Regions from separate parts of the Homo sapiens genome. Here region 2 is linked to region 1. Evidence: promoter capture Hi-C in 16 types of primary human blood cells and fetal thymus (Javierre and others, 2016). All regions are on one chromosome and are shown on one strand. The core of a region is centred on a gene start or on the middle of the fragment in contact, and the rest is flanking DNA. Distances in the headings are between cores, read along the strand shown. Region 1 holds the start of LINC00661 (long intergenic non-protein coding RNA 661). Region 2 holds the start of CYP4F2 (cytochrome P450 family 4 subfamily F member 2).

Region 1 (3,293 bases), core at 652-3,151:
TCAGTGGGGCCTGGTCTGTGGGGCCATGTCATGTGGTCTGGTCAGTGGGGCCCTGGCAGTGTGGGCCTGGTCATCAGAAGCCTAGTCAGTGGGGGGGCCTACTCACGGGGGTGTTGGTCAGTGAGGACATGGTCATTGTGGTCGGCTTAACGGGATCCATTCAATGAGGGTCAGGTCATGGAAAATCTGGTCAGTGGGGTTTGATCAGCAGGGGACTGCTCAGTGGGGATCGGACCAGTGGGGCCTGGTCAGCAGGCGGCCGGCAGTTCCTGGGGCCTGGTCAGTGGGGTCCAGCAGTTGGGACCTGGTTGATTGGAGGGTCCAGCCCTACGGGACTTAGCGGGTGTTCTCCCCGTGTGCAGAGACGAGAGAGCGTAAGAAATAAAGACACAAGACCAAGAGATAAAGAGAAAACAGCTGGGCCCGAGGGACCACTACCATCAAGACGCGGAGACCAGTAGTGGCCCTGAATGGCTGGGCACACTGATATTTATTGCATACAAGACAAGGGGCGTAGGGTCAGGAGGGTGAATCTTCTAAGTGATTGACAAGGTGAAGCAAGTCACGTGATCACAGCACAGGGGGCCCTTCCCTCTTAGGTAGCCGAAGCAGAGAGAGAGAAGGCAGCATACGTCAGCGTTTTCTTCTATGCACTTACAAGAAAGATCAAAGACTGTAAGACTTTCACTATTCCTTCTACCGCTATCTACTACAAATTTCAAAGAGGAACCAGGAGTACGGGAGGAACATGAAAGTGACCATTGGAGCACAGCACCACAAGGAGGGGTTTAGGCCTCCGGATGACTGCGGCAGGCCTAGATAATATCCAGCCTTCCACAAGAAGCTGGTGGAGCAGTGTTCCCTGACTCCTCCAAGGAAAGGAGACTCCCTTTCGCAGTCTGCTAAGTAACGGGCGCCTTCCCAGACACTGGCGTTACCGCTTGACCAAGGAGCCCTCAAGCTGCCCTTATGCACGCGTTGACAGAGGGCTCACCTCTTGCCTTCTAGGTCACTTCTAACAATGTCCCTTCAGCACCTGACCCTCTACCCGCCAGTTATTCCTAGGTTATGTTAGTAACGCAACAAAGAGTAATATTAAAAGCTAATGATTAATAATGTTTATAATAATGATTGATAATTGTCCATGATCATCTCTATATCTAATTTGTATTATGACTATTCTTATTCTAACTATTTTCTTTATTATACTGAAACAGTTTGTGTCTTCAGTCTCTCACCTCGGCACCTGGGTAATCCTCCGCCCACAGTCAATAGGGGTCTGCAGCTGGGGCAAGGTCAGCGGGGATCTGATCAGTGAGACCTAGTCAGGTCTCACTGACTGACTAGGCCCTGGGGGTTGGGGCCTGGCCAGCAAGAGTCCAGTAGTTGGGGCGTGTTTGGCGAGGGTCTCATGGTTGGGGTCTGGCCAGCGGGGGTCCCACAGTTGGGGCCTGGTGAGCAGAGATCTGGCAGTTGCAGCCTCGTCCATGGGGGTCTGGCAGTTGGGGCCTGGTCAGCGGGGTCTTATAGTTGGGGCCTGTTTGGAGGGGGTCCAGCAGTTGGGGCCTGGTCAGAGGGGATACGGCAGCTGGGGGTTATTTGGCAGGGATGCAGCAGCTGGGACCTGGTAGGTGGGGTCTGGCGGTTGGGGCCTGGTCAGTGAGGATCAGATCAGTGCGGTCTAGGCAGTGAGGTCTGGACGCTGGGCCTTCATCTGCATGGGTCTCGCAGTTGGGACCTGGTCAGCAGGGGTCTACCAGTTGGGGCCTGGTTGGCGGAATCAGGCAGTTGGGACCTGGTTGTCGGGGGTCCAACAGTTGGGGCCTGGTCAAAGGGGATCCAGCAGTTGGAACCTGGTCAGCAGGGCTCTGGCAGTTGGGGCCTGGTCATTGGGGTCTGGCAGTTGGGGCCTGGTCAACAGGGGTCCAGGAGCTGAGGCCTGGTTGGTGGGCCGTCTAGCAGTTGAGGCCTGGTCATCTGGGCCCGGCATTTGGGGCCTGATCGGCGGGGATCAGAGCAGTGAGGCCTAGTCAGTGAGGTGTGGATGTGGGGGCCTGGTAAGCAGGGGCCCAGCAGTTGGGGTCTGGTCAGCAGGGGTCTCATAAGAAGAGGCCTGGTTGGCAAGGGTCTGGCAGTTGGGGCTCAGTCAGGAGGGGTCTAGGAGTTGGGGCCCAGTCAGTGGGGTCTGGCAGTTTGGGCTTGATCAGTGCAGTCCAGCAGTTGTTGGGGCCTGGTCAGTGGGGGTCCAGTAGCTGGGACATGGTCAGTGGAGTCCAGCGTCCGGGGCCTGGTTGGCAGGGGTCTGACAGTTGGCGCCTGGTTGGTGGGGATCCCATAGTTGGGGCCTGTCAGCAGGGATCCAGCATTTGGGGCCCAGTCAGTGGGGTTCAGCTTTTGGGGCCTGGTGAGTGGGGTTCAGCATTTGGGGCCTGGCCAGCAGGGGTCCAGCAGTTGTTAGGGCCTGGTCAGCGGGGGTCTGATTAGTGAGATCTATTTGGTGGGGTCCATCAGTTGGGACCTAGTCAGTGAGGGCCGTGAGGGCCTTGTCAGTTGCAGCCTTGTTATTGTGGCCTTTGTCAGTGGTGTCTGATGAGCCAGGGCCTGGTCTGTGGGGCCCAGTCAGCAGGACCTGGTCAGTCCACATCTGGTCAGTGGGACCTGGTCATTGTGGGGGTGGTCAGCTAGGACCTGTTCAGTGGGAGCTTAACCATTGGAAGCCTGGCCAGTGGGATCCTGGGTGATCTCAGGCCACGGGTTAGTCCTCGAAGCCTCCGTGATTGCCTCCATCCATGGGGTGGGGGGTGAGTCACAGCACCCCAGTGGGCTTCTGGGAGGAGGAGGTGAGAGGGTGCATTGCATTGAATCCAGCCCTGCCACACAGACCTGGCACTTTACACACTACGCGAGTCACCCCAAGGGGGAAGCCTGGCTTCTGCCCTCTGCCCTCTGCCCTCTGCCCTTTGCCCTATGTCCCTGCCCCATCTGCATCCCCAGGACCACCCAGCATGGAAAGAGCAGAGGCTGAGGAGCACCTATGGGTGCTCTGATGCTGGCCACAGGCCCGGGGGTGACAGTGACAGGGATCCAGGTGCACACCTGAGTGGAGCAGCCAGGCCCAGCTGGAGGAGAGACGTGTTCACCCACACACATGCATCCTCACATACACAGACAAATTGCACGCATACATGTTGACCATTAAGCGGGCAGAGGACGCTGACCCTGGGCCCTGCTGAGCCAGGTAGGGCCCCGTCATGACAGAGGCTGTGAACCCATGCTGTCACTGTGCCAAGTGC
Region 2 (3,314 bases), core at 200-2,699, 120 kb before region 1:
AGCAGCCACTAGTGGAGCAGAGGTGACTCTAACTGTCCATCAGGACAATGGCTCCCACCTGGGAGCAGCTTCTGCAGCAGGCTCTGTGCTAGTGTGTCCTGTGCACCCTTCCACTTTATCTGTGGACACATCCATCAATCCTGCCATTTGCAAATGAGCAGACTAAGACCACATTCCCCAAAGAGGAGAGCGGTCTAAGTCAGAGGGCAAGGTCACGGGGAGGAGAAAGGCCAAGGAAAGCTTCTGAAAGGTGAAGTGAGTGGCCAACTTTTATCTGGGTTTGGCAACAGGTCTCATTGATAAGAGGGAGATAAGAAGAAGAATATAAGAGAAAGGTGCCTTCGGGTGTAGTGGAAGTGGGAGACGGCCCATGCCTCTCCTCTGGCCCAGCTGTACCCTCATAACAGGAAATAGTCCAGGCAAGGAGAGGACCCTGGACAGTGGGCATAAGAAGCCTCGAGTCCAGCAATGGAGAATGTGGGAATGCCAGGGACTCGCCTCTCTGTGCAGCCAACCCTCTGCCCAGGAGCCCCGCAGAGGTGCATTAATGTGGGAAGACAGGCAGGAAAAGGATTCAATGCAGGCCTGGAGTGGGAGGACAAGGAAGTGAGAAGGGCTTGCGTAGGCACCTCACAGAAATGAATAAGCAGAGGAATGAGTAAGATGCCTCCTCTGCTTCTCTGCCACCCCAGATCCCAGCCCACCCCTTCACCCCCACTCCCTAAGCCTCGTACCCCTCAGGAAGTCCATCCATCCTGAGACCTAGACCCATCCTGCTGCCACACTCACCATGCCCTGGTGTCCCCAAAACCAGTTCCGTCTTGGGGGTTGTGGGAAACACCGAAGGCGGCGGCAGTTGTCATAGAAGGCGTAGGTCCAGGCCAGGACATGGGCCAGGAGCCAGGAGGCCCCGACCAGCAGGAGGAGCAGCCAAGGGGATGCTGCCACTGGCCAGAGGCCCAGCCAGGACAGGCTCAGCTGGGACATCCTGCAGGGCAGACGGGATGGACGGTGAGATCCTGAGGCCCAGAGAACGGCCCAGGGACCTCCAGGGACAGTGGAGAGGCAGGGACGGGCAGTGCCGGAGGTAGAGCAGGGAGGGCTCAGGGATGGGTAAAAAGGGGCTGAGAGGTAAAGTCCAGAAAGGCCCAACCAAAACCAGCAGCCAAGTGGCCTCCAGTTCCCTAGTAAGCACTTAGAATGGGAAAGAGAGAGAGAGACTGATTAAAGTCCAGAAAGGCCCAGCCTGAATCACTGTGAGGTTGCCAGGGGCTTGGTTTCAGTTACTCGGAAACCACCCATCCTCCAGGCCAGCACCCAGGAGCTGCGTGGGCCTTGGGCAGTGCCCCTCTCCATCCCAGGCCAGGACCCCCCCCAGGCCTGCCACCCCCAGCCTGGCACCTTCTGTCAGGAGCAGTCTGTCCCAGACAACCTCCTCTCTCTGTCTGCTGGGAGGCCTTTGACCCTGGCCCTTGATATAGCAAAGGCTGTGGGAGGGCTGGCTGGGTTGGGCTGGGCCAACCAATCCCTGCAGCCTGGATGTGTCTCCTGAGCCTGGGCAGCCAATCAACACCTGGCGTCAGGCCAGCTGGGTGCAGAGGAATCAGCTCAGGGTCCAGATGGATGGGTAGATGCACAGATAGATAGAGTAGATAGGATGGATACATTAGGTAGATAGATAAAGTAGATATAGATAATGGATATATTAGACAGATGGATAGATAGCTATTAATAGATGATAGATAGATACATAGATAATAGGATAAATAGATGGAATGGATAAACGTACAGCTAAGATGGATTGATGGATGGATGGGTAGGCAAATATATATATAGATGAGAAATTAGATAGATAGGATGAATAGATTAGATAGACACACCCAGAAATAATGTTCCATCTCTGTCCCAGATATGTGGGATCCTCATTTGTGACATGGGAACTAGGGATCTTGGATCACTCCAATCACTCCAGATGCTACAAGGCCAGTGACTTACTCAGTATGATGCTGAGGAACATGACCATCAGAAACAGGATCAGAGTCACTCTCAAGCAAAAAAAAAAAAAAAAAAAAAAAAAAAAAAAAAAAAAACTCCAAGGATTAAATGATTTTTCCCATTGTCCTGGGGAGAAATTAATCCAAGGGAGGTCACAGGAGGGCAAATAATTCCCCATCACCACCACCACCACCATGAGCATACCATCACCCATGGAGTTTTCTGATTTACTCTTTGGCCCATTAAGCGTGAAATTTCTTATGCTAGGTTTCTTTCTGATAAGGGAGAAGAGATTAGTATCTCTACATTTCCTCTCCTCCTGCTACCTAGTCTCTGTATTCTAGGTTAAATTATAATTTATGTTGAGGATTTACAATGGCTGATACACCTAGCTGAGCCTTCTGCACAGAGATACATTGGGAGTGGAGGTTAATTGGGTCAAAGGAGAAATGCCATAAGCCCACACTCCAGCCTATCAGGGTGGATTAAAGGTCTGATTTGCCCAACTCTTGTCACACCTGCTCCCACTGAGAGGTGACAGCATGCTGGCAGTCCTCACAGCCCTCACTCGCTCTCGGCGCCTCCTCTGCCTGGGCTCCCACTTTGGCGGCACTTGAGGAGCCCTTCAGCCCACCGCTGCACTGTGGGAGCCCCTTTCTTTTCTCTTCTTTTCTTTTTTTTTGGATTTTTTTATTATTATTATTATACTTTAAGTTTTAGGGTACATGCGCACAATGTGCAGGTTAGTTACATATGTATACATGTGCCATGCTGGTGCGCTGCACCCACTAACTCGTCATCTAGCATTAGGTATATCTCCCAATGCTATCCCTCCCCCCTCCCCCCACCCCACAACAGTCCCCAGAGTGTGATGTTCCCCTTCCTGTGTCCATATGTTCTCATTGTGTAGGGACATGGATGAAATTGGAAATCATCATTCTCAGTAAACTATCGCAAGAACAAAAAACCAAACACCGCATATTCTCACTTATAGGTGTAGGAGCCCCTTTCTAGGCTGGCCAAGGCCAGAGCCGGCTCCCTCAGCTTGCAGGGAGGTATGGAGGGAGAGGCGCGAGTACGAACCGGGGCTGCGCGCGGCACTTGCGGGCCAGCTAGAGTTCCAGGTGGGCGTAGGCTTGGCAGGCCCCGCACTCGGAGCAGCCGGCCGGCCCTGCCAGCCCCGGGCAATGAGGGGCTTAGCACCCGGGCCAGCGGCTGCTCGGGAAGGTGTACTCGGTCCCCCAGCAGTGCCAGCCCACCGGCGCTGCGCTCGATTTCTCGCCGGGCCTTAGCTGCCTTCCCGCGGGGCAGGGCCCAGG

What was found. The method cuts DNA at HindIII sites, captures the fragments that hold promoters and counts their contacts. A CHiCAGO score of 5 or more calls a contact.
Region 2: the fragment with the promoter of CYP4F2 here is called in contact with the fragment with the promoter of LINC00661 in region 1 in 1 of 17 cell types (activated CD4 T cells); the score reaches 5.1 in activated CD4 T cells.

What each region holds. Positions count from the first base shown.
Region 1 is chr19:16,013,733-16,017,025 of GRCh38, forward strand. LINC00661 (long intergenic non-protein coding RNA 661) reads left to right here and starts at 1,902. Exons shown (of 9, transcript NR_026828.1): 1 at 1,902-2,057. LOC105372291 (a long non-coding RNA gene) reads right to left here and starts at 1,324. Exons shown (of 2, transcript XR_936355.1): 1 at 1,239-1,324; 2 at 404-653. The HindIII fragment of the contact is 12,039 bases long and covers 1-3,293 here.
Region 2 is chr19:15,896,625-15,899,938 of GRCh38, forward strand. CYP4F2 (cytochrome P450 family 4 subfamily F member 2) reads right to left here and starts at 1,450. Exons shown (of 13, transcript NM_001082.5): 1 at 1,402-1,450; 2 at 790-988. The coding sequence starts at 987. The HindIII fragment of the contact is 3,476 bases long and covers 239-3,314 here.